Regions from separate parts of the Homo sapiens genome. Here regions 1, 2 and 3 are each linked to region 4. The links are contacts of gene promoters, found by promoter capture Hi-C in blood cells and fetal thymus (Javierre and others, 2016). All regions are on one chromosome and are shown on one strand. Each heading gives the region's core, a stretch centred on a gene start or on the middle of the fragment in contact. The rest is flanking DNA. Distances are from core to core; before and after follow the strand shown.

Evidence for each region. Contacts are between HindIII fragments. The CHiCAGO score rates a contact against its expected background, and 5 or more counts as called.
Region 1: a contact is called between a fragment that was not itself captured here and the fragment with the promoter of HSP90AB1 in region 4, in 4 of 17 cell types (erythroblasts, fetal thymus, megakaryocytes and 1 more). The highest score is 7.0, in erythroblasts.
Region 2: a fragment that was not itself captured here is called in contact with the fragment with the promoter of HSP90AB1 in region 4 in 15 of 17 cell types (megakaryocytes, erythroblasts, M2 macrophages and 12 more); the score reaches 17.3 in megakaryocytes.
Region 3: a fragment that was not itself captured here is called in contact with the fragment with the promoter of HSP90AB1 in region 4 in 1 of 17 cell types (fetal thymus); the score reaches 6.1 in fetal thymus.

What each region holds. Positions count from the first base shown.
Region 1 is chr6:44,113,883-44,117,997 of GRCh38, forward strand. It overlaps MRPL14 (mitochondrial ribosomal protein L14), which reads right to left. Exons shown (of 3, transcript NM_032111.4): 2 at 2,659-2,747; 3 at 1-327. The coding sequence starts at 2,729. Among named protein-coding and RNA genes, the nearest start is that of MRPL14, 12 kb to the right of the region's middle. RefSeq lists an enhancer at 3,324-3,493. The HindIII fragment of the contact is 188 bases long and covers 2,425-2,612 here.
Region 2 is chr6:44,095,573-44,099,459 of GRCh38, forward strand. No RefSeq gene overlaps it. Among named protein-coding and RNA genes, the nearest start is that of SCIRT, 23 kb to the left of the region's middle. RefSeq lists silencers at 1,180-1,474, 1,252-1,421 and an enhancer at 3,465-3,634. The HindIII fragment of the contact is 6,139 bases long and covers 1-3,887 here.
Region 3 is chr6:44,074,597-44,078,880 of GRCh38, forward strand. It overlaps SCIRT (stem cell inhibitory RNA transcript), which reads right to left and starts at 56. Exons shown (of 5, transcript NR_125864.1): 1 at 1-56. RefSeq lists an enhancer at 1,067-1,136. The HindIII fragment of the contact is 7,345 bases long and covers 1-4,284 here.
Region 4 is chr6:44,245,569-44,249,619 of GRCh38, forward strand. HSP90AB1 (heat shock protein 90 alpha family class B member 1) reads left to right here and starts at 1,533. Exons shown (of 12, transcript NM_007355.4): 1 at 1,533-1,627; 2 at 3,062-3,208; 3 at 3,809-4,015. The coding sequence starts at 3,062. RefSeq lists enhancers at 1-589, 1,344-2,098, 2,583-2,632 and a silencer at 793-1,032. The HindIII fragment of the contact is 5,727 bases long and covers 1-2,269 here.

The DNA of each region.
Region 1 (4,115 bases), core at 1,269-3,768, 130 kb before region 4:
TCGCCTTCCCGCTTGCGCAGGCTGGTGGGGATGGGTGTCTTAATTCGTGTCCCCACAGGGTTCCCGTTGTCCTCAATGAGGACCACGTTGTTGGAGTCGAATCTGGGGGTCATTCGGGGGCCAGGCATGCAGTGCCCCACAATGAGCGCCTTTTTCTTCTGTCCCTTGATGGCCAGTAGTATCTGGTCGCCCACCTTGCCCACTCCATTCTTCTTATAGACATGGATGCAGCGAGGAGCCCGATGGTATGGGCTGTTCCCCAGGGCACTGTTGTCCACCACTCGTACCCGCGTCATCTTCTGAATCGCACTCAGACTCCCAGTGGTGCTGGTGGGAGGAAAAAAAAAAGTCTGCAGTCTGTATCTCTTATGGTCAGGGTGCACAGGCCTCTGAGAGGTCAAGGCTAGGGAGAATGTACATGTCAGCAACACACACAGAGCAGAGTGCTGTCCAGGAGCAGCAACAGAAAGTCAGGACTTTGTGAAGACTTATCTGTACCCACAACAGTTTCCTCACAATTGAGAGCTTCTGCTGTTGTGTCAAGGTCTCAATTTGGATGGGTTTTAAAGAGAACCCAATTTTTCTGTGACAATGAACTTCACAGCAGCCATAACTTAAAGCCTTTGCTTTCCAAAAGGACTCTAAGGACTTAAAGGAATCCCTTATGGGCTAGGCCTCACCCACTGCCTATCCTGAAAAACCTGCTTCCCCAGAATACACCATTCCCTAATTTTCTTTTTTTTTGAGACGGAGTCTCGCTCTGTCGCCCAGGCTAGAGTGCGGTGGCGCCATCTCAGCTCACTGCAAGCTCCACCTCCCGGGTTCACACCATTCTCCTGCCTCAGCCTCCCAAGTAGCTAGGAATACATGCGCCTGCTGCCATGCCCAGCTAATTTTTTGTATTTTTTAGTAGAGACAGGGTTTCACCGTGTTAGCCAGGATGGTCTCGATCTCCTGACCTCATGATCCGCCCGCCTCGGCCTCCCAAAGGGCTGAGATTACAGGCGTGAGCCACCGCGCCCGGTCCCCTAATTTTCTTATTTACATGTTGCTGGGAACTAGAAGATATGGGTAAGTTTACTAAGGGAATTCTCTGACACAACATACCAGAAACTGGTAATAAGTCAAGGTAACAATCTTCTGTTTTAATACATTTTTTCTCATTAGAAAAAAAAATTTTAGAGAGTACTTATTGAAGGCAGACAAGGTATTATTAAGCAAGCTGATTACAGTGGGATTCCTATTTTCCTGATGCTAGCACCTGATGCTGGTGTTTCCGCAGGGTAATCCTAGGACCTCTTCTCTCGTTTTTTATGCCTACTCTGGGCAATCTTACCCATTAGCATTGCTGCCAACTAGTAAATTCCATCTCCAGCCCCGCCTCTCTTCTATATTCTAGTTCTATATATTTCCACTCTCCTCAACTCCCTACAACATGCTCTATAGATACTGCAAACTCAGTAGGTCCCAAACTCATCTCACTGCCTCCCCTTGCAAACCTCCGCCTGCTGCTACACTTATCTAGACGATGGCTTCTCCAGCAGTACCAGAAGCCAAGCCATAAACCTCTCTCCACCAACATGAACTGGCCACCAAGTCCTGTTAATATCACCCCCTAAGCACCTATGTCCTTTCTCTCCAATCCCGCCAACAACTTCCTTCATTTAGCAGCTCACTCTCCTACACCAAGACTGTGACATTAGTGTCCTAGTTGGTTCCCATTGCACTTCACTTTGCCAACAAAGAGCTCTCTTTAGAATATAAAAGTGATGCTACTCCCCACCATCTACACTGTCAACAACCTTGTCCCAATTTACCTACCTTCTAAGGCTACACATCCTACCACTCTGGGCAGGAGAACCAGGAACCACTTCCCCAAGCACACCCTGCCTCCCAATTCTCCCTGGAGGCCTAGACAGGATCTGCCCCCATCTCCCTTTTGAGAAGACTGCCTCCACTCTTTCTCCTCCTCTTCCTCCACTAGCAGCTCCTATATGACGCCTTCCAAAGCACTGTACAATCCTCTATTATAATATTCTATCACATTTTCTTAGAGTTACTTATTTTCAAGTTTGCTCCTGTGGCTGACAGTGAGAATTCTTTCAGGACAGAAAGCAACTCTCTTTCATCTCTGTATGGCCAACCCCAGGTGCGGTGCTCAGGAAATGCCTGTGGGATGAGGGCATGACGGGGCCAGGAGGCATGTCTGCCAACAAGCGTGCCTCCTGTGCTCTCCTGGCTTAGCATCTACAAGGAGGGGAGGGTGTCACACTTCTATCATGCTCAAGTTCTTGGTAATAAGCATGTATTATTTTTGTAATTAAAAAAATTCCGTTTTTAAAAGGATTTTAATGCTCTAGGGGAATGATAGGGTTGAGAGATGTCAGATTCACTGTAAGAGTCTTGCAAGGACTGAAGAGTAAAAGCTTCCGCCATATGCCATTCCCCATCACACTTCTAACAGCAACATCACCTCTTTACCTATCCCCCATCCTGTGACCAGACCAACCAGGCCAGCTCAGCCTGATCACTTTAGCTTTCCCCAACCCCATGCCCACCTCCCTGAGTTTTTACTCCTGTTCTAGTCACCGTAATACCCAGCCCTGATAGGAAGCTTACACAAAGACACAGTTTTAAGAACTTAATGGGAAAAGTTACCTGAAACAGTGATGGCTCAGCACTCTGCTTACACAGGTGAAGGGGCCCCAGAGCCCAGTAAAGAAAGCCATGGGATCCCAAGATAGATCCTGCAGGAAAAACGAGAGGGGGAAAAATTGGTTTCTAAGTCAGAGCCCTTAAAGCCAGTTTTCTTTGGGGACTTGTGTGGGAGATGGCACTTCCAGCACAAGATCATTAGTCACAAAATATAAATCTTAGTGGTTAAAGGATACACAGATGATTAGACAGAGCTGTAGCTCCGATTTTGCTGATTCACATTCTAACTCTGGGGTTGGAGAGGGAGAATGGCCCACAACAGCTTCTGCTATAAAAAAATACAACAGCACGGAGAATGCCTTCCTTATTATATCACTTCCACAGGCAGGAGGAAAATATGAGCCCTTGGTTATAAACCCAGCCAGGGACTTCTTCTCGAGTCCTCCATAGAGGAAAAACTGCACACTATTGCCCTTTTTGATATTCATATGCCTTCTGAAACCAGCACTTTAACTCCCTAAAAGAAAGTAAATTATCTAAGCAGCCACCCAAGTTGTCTATCACTACATCACCTTTCCCCCAAATGTAAAGGCCAGAACACCTGTACAGCTCAAGGCCAGCAAAGCAAAGCCAAAGGCTGCTCTTGCCAAGTCAAAGACCAAAGTCTTTATTTGGGTCAGTCTCCCAAACACTGTAACATGGAAAACTGACCTACACCATACTACAGCTGAAAGTGGGCTTTGGGAAACCAACTTGAAGAGTTAGCTAAAAGAGCAAACACCAACCCAAGACTTGTGACTCCAGTTTTCAGAATCTCAACCCTGTTGCTCCCTAGCACTAACAAATATGGAGGCTGCCAGTGCCCTGAAACACCTGAACATCACTTCAGAGCATGCTTCAGAAAGGCCTGTAGCCAGCTGCAAAACACACCTGTTTTTCCACCCAAACGTTTGGCAGCAGAGGTGCCCATTCAAGAGGTCTGCCGAGAAAAGCCTCTACACTGTAGTATTTACACACAGCTTTGCTATGCACAAGTTCAAACCACCTCAGATAAGATTTTATTTAATAAGAATGTTAGGGTGGGGCAGGGGAATCCACTCCTCCCCAGGAATACCTAGACACTCCATACTTTTTTTTCTTTCCTTGAGACAAGTCTTGCTCTGTCACCCATGCTGGAATGTAGTGGTGCAACTGCAGCTCACTGCAGTCCCGAACTCCCCAAGCTCAGGTGATCCTCCCACCTCAGCCTCCCAAGTAGTCAGGACCACAGACATGCACCAGGACGCCTGGCTAATTTTTTGTGTTTTTTTTTTTTTTTTTTTTTTTTTTGTAGAGATGATGGTCTCACTATGTTGCCCAGGCTGGCCTTGAACTCCTGAGTTCATGCAATCCTCCCGCCTCAGCCCCGCAAAGTGCTGGGATTATGGGTGTGAGCCACCCACCACACCTGGCCTTTAAAT
Region 2 (3,887 bases), core at 37-2,536, 150 kb before region 4:
CCACACCCAGCTAATTTTTGTATTTTTAGTAGAGACAGGTTTTCACCATGTTGGCCAGCTGGTCTCGAACTCCTGATCTCAGGTGACCCACCCTCCTTAGCCTCCCAAAGTGCTAGGATTACAGGAATGAGCTACCACACCCGGCCAAGAAAGTATTTTTACAGACCCCAAGAATGGGGTGTCCAGCTGGGCGTGGTGGCTCATGCCTGTAAAATCCCAGTACTTTGGGAGGCCAAGGTTGGCGGATCACCTGAGGTCAGGAGTTCGAGACCAGCCTGGCCAGCATGGTGAAACCCTGTCTCTACTAAAAATACAAAAAATTAGCTGGGCGTGGTGGGAGGAGCCCGTAATCCCAGCTACTTGGGAGGCTGAGGCAGGAGAATCGCTTGAACCCGAGATGGCGCCATTGCACTCCAATCTGGGTGACGAGAGCGAAACTCCGTCTCAAAAAACAAAAAAAGAATGCAGTGTCCCCAGCCCCAGGCCCCGCCCTGCTTCACCCCACCTCCCTCCACAGTTTGGCCTGGGTCCATGGCTGGAGTCCCTTCCTAGCCTATAGCCCCAGGCCCTGCTGCAGTGACCCCCATCAGCCCAGGGCATTCTGTTCATGCCCCATGACTCTCATGAAGGATGAGAGCAGGGTGCTGGCTTTACAGGAGTTGGGTGAACCTCAGATACTGAGAGTGGACAACACTTACACAGCCCTGACCCGGAAAGGGGACCTGTTTTAAGTGCCTTATTTTGACTCACTTCAACCCTACAAGGTACGTACTATTACATTCCAAGGAGGGGAAACTGATGCACAGGGGACTTGCCCAAGGGATGTGAACCCTGGCAGTCTGGTGCCAGGGTCTGTCCTCCGTACTCCACCTCAAGGTAGTCATTGCTCTCTCTAGACTCTGAGTGTCTCTACCTGCTCTCCTCTCTCCTCTTTGCTTTCACAATGATCCTGCCAGATGCTCTCTTTCCTGCCAGAAGGGAGGGCTACATGTGAAAATCTGGCATCAGAGTCTCAGCCACTCCCTTCTCAGGAACCACCTGCCTGCCTGCCATAGCAGGCGGTGAAGAGCCAGCCCTGACATCAGACAGCTCCTGGAGGCAGGCAGGCCTGTCTGAACCCTCCTCCCTGCTGCAACAGAAATGGCTACCAGCCCCACTGGCCAGGCCTACAGCAGGCTGTGCCTGGCCCCCACTTGACAGGCAGCACTCACCTCTCACCTCTGCTCTGGGGGCCCAGCTGAGGCAGCACCTGCCCAGGATGTCATGGTGCCATAGTTGCACCAGCTCCAGGACCAGGGCAGCTGAACGCCCCTTTGCCCACTAGATGGCACAATGTGCACAGAAATGTGGGTTGACCGCTTGGCCACCCTTTCCACCTGCAGAGGAACTGGATTTCACCACACTCTGCATTTATCTCATTTTTATTCTCATTCCTCATCCTAACCCATAGCCAACCATTTGTATGTGTCCTTGCAAAACAAGTGCATGTATTTTTTAGTTTCACAATTAGTAATATATATATATATATATATATATATATATATAAAAAACACACACACACATTATAGATATATTTCTTAATTGTTTTCGCTCAGCACTGTATTTTTAAACCTCATTCATGTTGCTGTGAGCACATTTAGTTTCTGGTGGGCACCTTCCACATTTATTTACCCACTCTGAGGGCGACAGGCACCCAAGTTCCCTCCAACACCCCAGCAACCCTGCCATGACCGTCCTTGACAGGAACCGTTACGGCTCGGCCTGAAAACCTAAGAAGCGGAATTGCCAGGTTACAGGGCATGCAGCGACTTCATTTGGCACAGTACTGCCAGCCAGCTCTCAACCCACCCAGTTCTTGGAGGGTTCCTGGGGAAAAGACGCCCAGCCTCCTAGGACTAGTCAGCCTAGCACCCCTTCCTGTGGGGAGGGGCCCCAATCCTTTCTGCTTGGGCCCAAGGGAGATGGAGAGCCAGTGGCCTCTGTCAAGAGCGTCTTGCAAAGGTAAGACCTTAAGGTCCTACATCTCCCCTGGGCATTTTTTTTTTTAAGTAAAGGGCAATGGCTGGCCTGTTAAATCCCCCACATCCCTCTCTTCAGGAGCCTTTCTGATTACAAAGCCCATTCTTTTTCTCCCTTCTCCTCCCACAGAACTATCCCAGTTTCCTGCATTTTCCCATTTCTCTTCCTCTGCCCATCCCTTCCATGTGAACACCCTACACTTACTAGCTATGTGTCTGTGGACAAGTTACTTGGACTCTCCCTCTTTGTCTATAATATGGAAATAAGTAATATCATTACTAATAATAGGCACACAGGCATAATCCCTCCCTGGCCTCTGCACACAGCCCTCTCTCTAACTCAATGCTGCCCCACTTCCCACATATATTTAAGTAGCTCAAGCCCCTCCTCCCCCAGGAAGTCATCCCTGATTGAACCAGATACAGTCCCAATGTCCTTAATCCAACTGTCACCTACTAAGAGCTCAAGTGATTATTTTTGGCTGAAATTTGAAATAACAATAATGGCTATGATTGATACGCTGAGCACCTACTATGTGCCAAGAATTCTACGGCCTACTCCATATCCACACAAGAGCCCTGGAAGGCAGACATTGTCATCCTGACTTCTCAAATGAGGAGGCTGAGACTCAGAGAGTAAGGTGACTTGCCTGAAGTCACTGGCAGGTAATTGTCAAGGTCAGGACTGGAATACAGGCTTGTCTGATATAAAAGCTCTACCCCACACCACCTCCTTCAGAATCCCTTCCTCTTGCCCTCATTCCCCCATACACATGGTATGTGCATTGCATTTTAAAATTATTTGTGATTTTAAGTACACAAATAATAGAGGGATATAGTCTCTTTATTAAAAAATTAAAGCACTACAGAGCTGTGTCACCTTTGACCAGGAACCTTCTACCTCCCTCCTCCCCAAAGGAACTCCCACTATTAGCACTGTCTTGGGTATCATTCTTGTGCTTTTTTGCCTTTTTTTTTTTTTTTTTTTGAGACAGGGTATCTTGCTCTGGTGCCCAGGCTGGAGTGCAGGGAATGTAGTGGTGTGATATCACAGCTCACCACAACCTCTGCCTCCCAGGTTCAGGTGATCTTCATGCTCAGCCTCCCAAGTGGCTGGGATTACAGGTGCACACCACCAGGCCCAGCTAATTTTTGTATTTTTAGTAGAGACGGGGTTTCACCATGTTGGCCAGGCTGGTCTCGAACTCCTGGTCTCGAGTGACCACCCACCTCAGCCTCCCAAAGTGCTGGGATTATAGGTGTGAGCCACTGCACCCAGTCCCATAAATTTTTCTGTATTTGTAGGAAATAACGTTGTTAAGTGATTTTACATAAATAATGTGTGTGGGGCCGGGCACAGTGGTTCATGCTTGTAATCCCGGCACTTTGGGAGAACGAGGCGGGTGAATCACTTGAGACCAGGAGTTCGGGACCGGCCTGGTCAACATGGCGAAAACGCGTCTCTACTAAAAACACAAAAATTATCTGGGCATGGTGGCCTGTGATCCCAGCTATGCAGGAGGTTGAGACACCTTGAACCCGGCGTATGGAGGCAGAAGTGAGCTGAGATTGCACCACTGCACTCCAGCCTGGGTGACAGAGTGAGACCCTGTCTTAAAAAAAAAAAAAAACAAAAAACCCACAATAATGTGTGAGGTATATCACTCTTCAACAGGCTTTTTTCCATTCAACAATATGTCTTGGAGAGCTACATCTATCTATACCTACACCATCCTTTCTTGGAACAGTTGTGTGCTACTCCATGGCACACATGGACTTTGCTTATTTACCCAGGCCCCTACTGATGGCTATTCAGATTGTTTCCAATTCTATTAAAAACAGGCTGAAACGAGTATGTACAGACCTCTC
Region 3 (4,284 bases), core at 1,696-4,195, 170 kb before region 4:
ACACACACAGACGTACACACACACCCGACACCGACCCACGCGCCTGGGCTCTGCACAGTGGCTAGACCCCAAAAAGCCGATTCTCCTGTTCCCTCCGTGGTGGCCTCAGTCTTTTGGCGGCGCCCTCTGCTGGCCACTAGGAAGTGCAGGAAAAAACAGTCTGCCCATAGACGCTTGGTGGATCTGGGAAAGGGGACAAGAGGCAGAGAAACAAGTGAAAAGTGGGAGCTGAGAGCAGCGCTGGGCTGGCCACAAACAAGCGAGGCATGGTGACGCCTTCCTGGAGGTGGGGAGTTTTGAGCCAGCTTTCCATGGGCCTAGGGAGACAAGCCGAGCTGGCAGATAGGGGCTCAGGACACCCCAGGAGTGGCCCTTCCTGTGTGCTGAGCCCTACCCCTGTCCTGGATGGCTCATACACCCACTAACTCATATGGCTGCTGTGCCCTGCTTGGGAGTCCTTCCTGTCAGCCTCTATTGGGGTGGTGGGTGGGGAGGAGCAGCCATGGAAACCCTGATCCTTCTAGTCATAGTCTGGCTCCCTGGGGCTGTGAGAGGTGTCCCCAAAGAGAAGCCTCCAATTGACAAACCTCTGCTCCACCCCACCCCACATACACAGAGGATGGCCCAAGCCCAGGTCCCTGGCATGGTGGGGCAGGGGCCTGAGTCACAGCCTGGCGTGACCCTGCCCAGTCCCCAGGAATGGCCAGCTCGTCCAGAGGTGAGACCCAGGTCAACAATCCATCAGTCTGCCTCCTGCCACCAGGTATCCTCCCCATCACGTCCTACACGTGGGGTGGGCCAGGACAGTGCTGGGCAGAGCTAGTGTTGGGCCTGTGCCTGGGGGCCACCAAGGGGGCCCGGAGAAAAGAATGGAGGGGTTTTCACTTCCTGAGCAGCAGGAGGAGCCAGCTGGGGTTAAAGACAGGAGGGACTGGTTGGGCCTACAGGCATTTGGAGTCTCTCCCTGCCTGCTGGGTGAGGGAGGCAGCAGGTGCCAAGAACTGCTAGCTTCTAGGACCTGACCCTCAAGTTGCTTCTCCTGCTGAGGGGCTTCTAGGGTCACCCTCAGGGCCTTGACATCTGCACACATCTGCACAGGCCCTTCACCAGGGACTTAACCTCCAAAGGCAGCTCCTGCTCCCAGCCTTCACAGGCCCCCCTAGGGCCCAAGTCCCCAGACCCAACCTCAGTCTGCAAGCTGGCCAAGTCAGAGGTCCTGGCTGCCTGGACCACTCCCAAGCAGTAAATGGCACTGTGGGCTTCCTCCATCCTGTCTTCCCCGCCCCACTTCATTGATTCACTGACTTCCAACTTACTGGTCAGGCCCCCTTCCAGACCCTGCCTGGATGAAGAGGACTCCCAGAAGCAGTGATTGAAGGCCTAGGAGGATACAGAGAGCCAGGTGCTTTAATTGGAGGTAATTAGTTAATTTACTCTGAAAGCAATGGGGCAGGGCGGGGACAGGGGGAGGAGAGGGGAGGGGAGGAGGTAGGGGGCTGTGACCTAACTGGGCTCAAACTCTCAAACTCTGGTCAGCCTCCTTCTGGACCACAGCAAACCTGTGTGTACCCACCCACTTAGGAGACCCTCTCCTGGGCCCCAGGTCAGAGCAAGACCCAAAGTGGACTAGGGTGGCTCTGCAGAAAAAGCAGGTGCCCTGGGGTGGTGGGAACAGGCCTTTTGAGGTTAGGGAGGTGTGGACTGGCATGAGGGAATTGGAGAGGTGCAAGGAGCTCTGGGATGGGAACTGGTCCCTCTCCTGTCACGTATAATTCCATCCCTCCCAAGGTCATTGCTGTCACCCAAGTTAGGGGCCCAGCCCCCTCCTTTGGTCAGTGAAGTCCCAGGGCAGCCCATTTTAAATACAACGGGGCCTGAAGGCTAACTTCTGGCCTTCCTGCTTCGGGAAATCATTCCAATAACCGGGAAAAAAGGGGGCCCGAGGACAGAGCCCCTGCCGGGCCCCAGGGGGAGTGTCGTCGGCTCCTTTGCGTCGCCGGCCGGCGGCGTGGCGGGGACTCTGGCCGGCAGCCTCCCGCGCCGTCCGGAGCAGCTGACCCGCTGGCGGTGGGCCAGGTCGCGGCGGGGCCTGGAGGCAGCAACGTGCGGCGCGGCATGTCGCGGGCGCCGCGGCAGGGAAATGTGGGGGCGGGCCGGCGCGCCCCCTCCCCCCCGCCTACGCTGGCCCATTCATAAAACCTGCAGGCGCTGCCCGGCCTGGCAGCCTTGGTCTCCTAATTGCAAACTCATTAAGGAGTTTGCATCTCATTTGCATGGAAATCATTTCCTGGCCCTAAACAGAGAAACTTCCCGCCCCTCCACCAGCCCCTCTCTGCCCTGCTTTACCCATGCACAGTCTGGGAGAGGAGAGGGGGCATATCTCTGACCTGCGCCCCTTCCCTGGCCTCACCACCACCCTCCCACTTTAGGAGTTGGGGAAGGGATTGGCAGAACACCCACCCAGCCAGGAGCCCTGCCTGTGCCCCAGGTGAGCCGGCCCTGCCCTAGTGGGTCCAACTGAGGGGAGGTGCCTGCCAAGTCATTTGCCCCCCGGCCTGGCCGTGCCCAGGGAAGGGAGGAGGCGGTCGGCAGTTGGCCCCAGCAGCTGGTTGTACCTGGCAGGAGGTGGGTGAGGCTTTTCGTGCCCAGCCTCACGTACGTGCCCTGCCATAGGCCGTGCCCCCACCCCCACACCCCTCACCCCACAGAACAAGCGCCTAGTGACTGCAGAAACAGACACCCAGTCATGGCACACAAAGGCACCCACACCAGGCCAGCCATCATGGCTGCCCCCCTGGCAGCCACCCTGGAGGGCAGACAGATGCCTTCACAAGCCATTTTGTCTTTCTCCAGCTTGGTGCCAGGACTGGGGGTGGGGGAAAGGGTTTCTCCTGAGACTTCTCTGAGTAAGGGGGCCCACAGAGGGGTTTCCTTATGTACCCCAGCTGTGGCCTCTTGCCCCCTCTCTCCTGTAACCCATGTTTACAGAGGCCTCCAAGTGCTCTACCCTGCATGGGGACCTGCCCAGGCGAGGGGGTCACAGGAGCCTCCAACCCAGGAGGGGAAGTGAGAGATAAAGCCCCTAAGGAAGGGACACCTAAGTGCCTCCCCAACCAGGGTCTGTCCTTCGTGTCCCAAGTGTGTGTAGTGGAGGGAGTGCTCCCCAGTTTCCTGGGGGTTGAGGTGGGGCGGTATTCTAAACCTTTGGAAATGGAATAGAACTACCTAAAGTATATGAAATTAGATACTACTTGGGACACTATGTCTTGGTTCTGTATGTCCTGGGACAGTGTAAAAAGTGATCACAAAATTTTCAACATCACAGTCTAAAATAAAAACCTGCCTCTTGTCTGCCTCCTCAGACATAAACCTGCTTACGCTTCCCATCTGCCCACACTCCCACCTGCTGTATCTGAAGTTTCTCCCTTCCTTTGCTAGGGCATAAAGGGGTGGGCAAGGATGTTCTGGAACACTGACCACACATCCGTCCTGAGTATGGCTGGACTGACCCTACCCTCCCAGCTCCTGGAGCAGTTGGGTTCCAAGTGCCATATGTGTGCGTGGTTCAGGGGTACTGGAAGAAAGTTTTAGAATGCCTATTTATTTTTCATCGAATCCTTTTTTCATTTAGTGTGAGTGTGTTTTACAAGGTAAACTATATAAAAACATACTCATCTGACGGGTGCGTACTCAACAATCTTTTTTATTGCTAAGGGCACATGATCAAAAAAACTTCGGAGGTCACTGGCCTAGACTTCAGGTGGGGCAGCTGTGGGCAGGGGATGGCTTGTCTTGTCCATCTAAGTATCCAGCCTGACACATGACTAGTTCAGAGCCTGGCAGGGAGCAGAGGTCAGGGACACAGTATTGAATGAATGAAGTCCACCCCTAGAACTGACAGATGAGGAAACTGAAATAATTCTGGGGCGGGGAGATTGCTCAGAGGAGGACATGGGCAGGTTGAGAGAGTCTCCCCTCATTGCTGCTATGTCTGCAGCCTGCCCGTGTCCAACACCCAGCACCCACACAAACCTTACTTCTACCCACCCCAGGGAGCACAGCTCCCTCCTCTGCCTACCAGCAGAGTGGCCACCTGTCTTGAGCTTCTTACTGGATCCTGATTAGCAGAGCCAGACAGGGTTGTCACCTGCCATATCCCTCTACGTGGCAGAAAGTCTGTTGCCAGCTTTGTATCCTAGAACTCTCTGGAAGTCAATCTGGTGTAGGAGAAAGAATTTAGGCTCCAGACAGGCGTCAGTCCTCATCCAGCTTGGTGACCTTGGG
Region 4 (4,051 bases), core at 283-2,782:
AAAGAAGAGGAAAGCAAGGGACACCCTTTGTTCTTTGGTATTCAACACATGAACAAAACTTGTTAACGAATCGTAGACTGGGTAACAACAGGGCTGGTGAGGGAGGACGATGTGGGTGGCTGTGGGGAAACTCTTCCCAAGCATCCCAGGGGTGGGCCAGGAAGGGGAGCAGATGGACATCTACAGGGCACAGAGCAGGGAGTGGCTATTCTCTCCTGGAGGGGTTGTGGGTCCAGCAGGCTTTCGGATGAGGCCTTGGAAAGGCAAGGACAGCTTGCCAACTGGAGGGCAGGCAAAACGGCTGAGCCAGGCCAGACACGGCAGCTCACTGGCCAGGGGCATGGCCTAGGGGCTCTGGTGCCAAGGCTGAAGGGGAACAACTTGGCCAGCCGCTCTGTGGCCGGCATCGTCACGCGGCCTCCAAGAGCTCCGGCTGCCCTGCACTGGTTCCCAGAGACTCCCTCCTTCCCAGGTCCAAATGGCTGCAGGAGCGAAGTGGGCGGAAAAAAAGCGAACCAGCTTGAGAAAGGGCTTGACGTGCCTGCGTAGGGAGGGCGCATGTCCCCGTGCTCCGTGTACGTGGCGGCCGCAGGGGCTAGAGGGGGGTCCCCCCCGCAGGTACTCCACTCTCAGTCTGCAAAAGTGTACGCCCGCAGAGCCGCCCCAGGTGCCTGGGTGTTGTGTGATTGACGCGGGGAAGGAGGGGTCAGCCGATCCCTCCCCAACCCTCCATCCCATCCCTGAGGATTGGGCTGGTACCCGCGTCTCTCGGACAGGTCAGAGCGGGTCGCCGGGTGGGGTCGCTGCAAAAACCCTGCCCCGGCCGCAGCCGGAGAGGCGGAGCCTCGCGGGGAGGGGGCGGGACCGCCGAGACAGGCCTGGAAACTGCTGGAAATGCCGCAGTGCCGCCGCCGCGCCTTCCGCCGCATGTCGGCAAAGAGTCCCCGCCAGCCCCGGCCGGCGCCCTCCCCCTACGCTGAGCTGCCCCTCAGCGCGAACCCTCCGCCCTTCCTCTACTCCTGCGAGAGTCGGGATCTGGGGCTACCCAAGGTTGGGTCCCGAATGCCAGTCCCTCTGTCGGGACGCGAGATGTGTAGGGCAGATGCTAGGAAGAAGATTGGGTCTGGGAGCGGTGGTCCGCGTGGTTAGCTGCCTCCGCTCTTTTTCGGTGTCCCCCCCAGTCCCGCCCTTGGGTGTGGGGACGCCTGCCCCACAAGTGTTTAGGGAGGTCAGTGGGTTCCTCGCCCGTAGAGACACCGTTTATGCCAAATGAGCACTCCTCATCCCCGCTCTTGATGGAGTCATGTCCTAGACGTGAAACTATGGGGCTGTGATCACAAGCAAATGTGTGGGCGGATCCGTTGCTTGGGTTCTTCCCCGCCCCCTCTTTTTTTCGGACCATGACGTCAAGGTGGGCTGGTGGCGGCAGGTGCGGGGTTGACAATCATACTCCTTTAAGGCGGAGGGATCTACAGGAGGGCGGCTGTACTGTGCTTCGCCTTATATAGGGCGACTTGGGGCACGCAGTAGCTCTCTCGAGTCACTCCGGCGCAGTGTTGGGACTGTCTGGGTATCGGAAAGCAAGCCTACGTTGCTCACTATTACGTATAATCCTTTTCTTTTCAAGGTAAGGCTGAGATCTCCGCTAGGCTTCTTTCCCTTTAGTGCTGTATTCGTGTTGTTTTTGTTTTTTTCTGTCCTTTAGGGAGCCTTAGTCTAGATGTCGGGGTGGCTTGTGGATAACGCTCTGGATTTTTATAGGGTGAGGGTAGTGGTGGGTGAGGTTTTTTGAGTCCTCCTCGGTTTTCTCTAGTGTGTTTGGGGGGTGGGGCTTTCTCTCGGCGCCTGCTGGCCGTAGCGAGGTGGGCTGTGGGGTTGGGGCAGTGGGCGGCTGGCAGCTGCACGTGGTGGCCGCGCGGCCCGGGACGCTGCCATTTTTGCCCCTCCACTTCCGGACGCGGCTACGGGGCGTCGGAGGGGGACCGCAGGGTGGCGGGGGTGCCCGCTCGGGTGACTCAGCACGGCCTTGTGGGACTGGCTTTGTCACCTCTCTTATCGGACGCGTTGTTAAAGCCTTCTTGGGTGCTTTGTTTCTGTGAGGGAGGGTTGACGGTGTGGGAAGAGAGCTTTCGGTCTCCAGCACCCGATACTCCCTCCTTCCAGATCTTTCTTGCAGTCCCGGTGGAGGAGGGGCGGGGAGGGGAGCAGGTTCTGGAAGATTCATGGGCTCCTTCCTCCGCCCTTCCTCGAGAGCTGAGATTGTTCTGGAAGCTTCTGGATTCTGGCGCCCCGCCCCAGTGCCCGGATGCTGGGGCGAGGGAGGGTGCACTGCGGCGCCCCCTCCTCGCGTGGTCCTGGCCGACGCATGTCCGGCAGTGACGAGTGTCGGCCTGGTGGCTACGGCCACCATCTTTCTTGGGTTTGGTCCTGTTCTGTAATTTTGTGCTGTGAAAGGGTCGTGGTGGAGCTTTTGGCTTAAGAATTCTTTGTCCGGATTTAATTGCTCCTCCGGTGGGTATCGTATGGATCCCAGGTTATTCCTCCCTGCCCTATGGGGCAGGAGTGTCCCGCCCTTGGACTGGTCTTAGGAACTGACACCTCAGGGGGAGCAGTTTAAAGTTAGTGCCATTTTTATCTTAAACTAGTCACTTTGATCTCCCCCAAATAAAGAACTGTAGGTAGTGATTTTCACATTTAAATTTGTGTAAGGATTACTTGGGATCTCTAGATACCTGGGTTGGACCAACATTATGATTTTTCTGCCATACTACCAGATGATGCTGAGGCTGCTGGTCACCATTCTTTAAGTAGGTGGGTTCTGTGACATTTGGTTGAAGAATATTTAGCTTATTTTCTTTTTCCTTCTGAATTTTCAGGCCTCCCACTTAGTGTGTAGTCTGAGATCTTTAAGAGAATGCATTTTTAGTCTTGGGAAGGGATAGTACTCCGGTTAAACCAGTCTGAACTCACTGTCTAAGGTCCTAACAAATGATATGACCTTTAGGATTTTTAAACATGGGGCCTTAGTGTTCTTTTGTAATTAATGAGATTTTTATTTTAGATGCCTGAGGAAGTGCACCATGGAGAGGAGGAGGTGGAGACTTTTGCCTTTCAGGCAGAAATTGCCCAACTCATGTCCCTCATCATCAATACCTTCTATTCCAACAAGGAGATTTTCCTTCGGGAGTTGATCTCTAATGCTTCTGATGTAGGTGCTCTGGTTTCCACATTTGGCATGGTTTTTTTTTTTGATACTCTAGAAGGAGGGGAAAGGAGTGGTTTGGCCTTTGTTGGGGACTACTATTGAAGGGGGTAAACTTGCAGCTATTCCAAAAAGATGGGTTTTACTCTGGCCATCTTGAACTTGGAAGGGACTATGTCCAGAATAAGTGGGCTCATGGAACTAACTGGTTCTAAAGCCTCAAGATAGGGGGCAATCAGATTTGAGGCTGAGAGAGGTAAACCAAGATTTTCTTTGAAGATACGGGCTTTAAGAAAGCAAAAGTGGCTGAGCGTGTTGGCTCACACCTGTAATGCCAAGGCAGGAGGATCACTTGAGCCTAGGATTTCGAGGGCAGCCTGGGCAACCGCGAGACCTTGTCTCTGCAAAAAATTAAATATTAGTTGGGCACGGTGGCATGTGCCTGTAGTCCCAGCTACTTGGGAAGCTGGGGTTGGGAGGATGGCTCGAACCTGGGAGGTCAAGGCTGCAGTGAGCTGTCATCCTTGCCACTGCACTGTAGCTTGGGCAACAGAGCAAGAGTCTGTCTTGGAAAGAGCAAAAGTAAGTTGCTGTTTGTATTTCCAGGCCTTGGACAAGATTCGCTATGAGAGCCTGACAGACCCTTCGAAGTTGGACAGTGGTAAAGAGCTGAAAATTGACATCATCCCCAACCCTCAGGAACGTACCCTGACTTTGGTAGACACAGGCATTGGCATGACCAAAGCTGATCTCATAAATAATTTGGGAACCATTGCCAAGTCTGGTACTAAAGCATTCATGGAGGCTCTTCAGGTATTGCAGTTCTGTAGGCATTCATACTTATCTGTG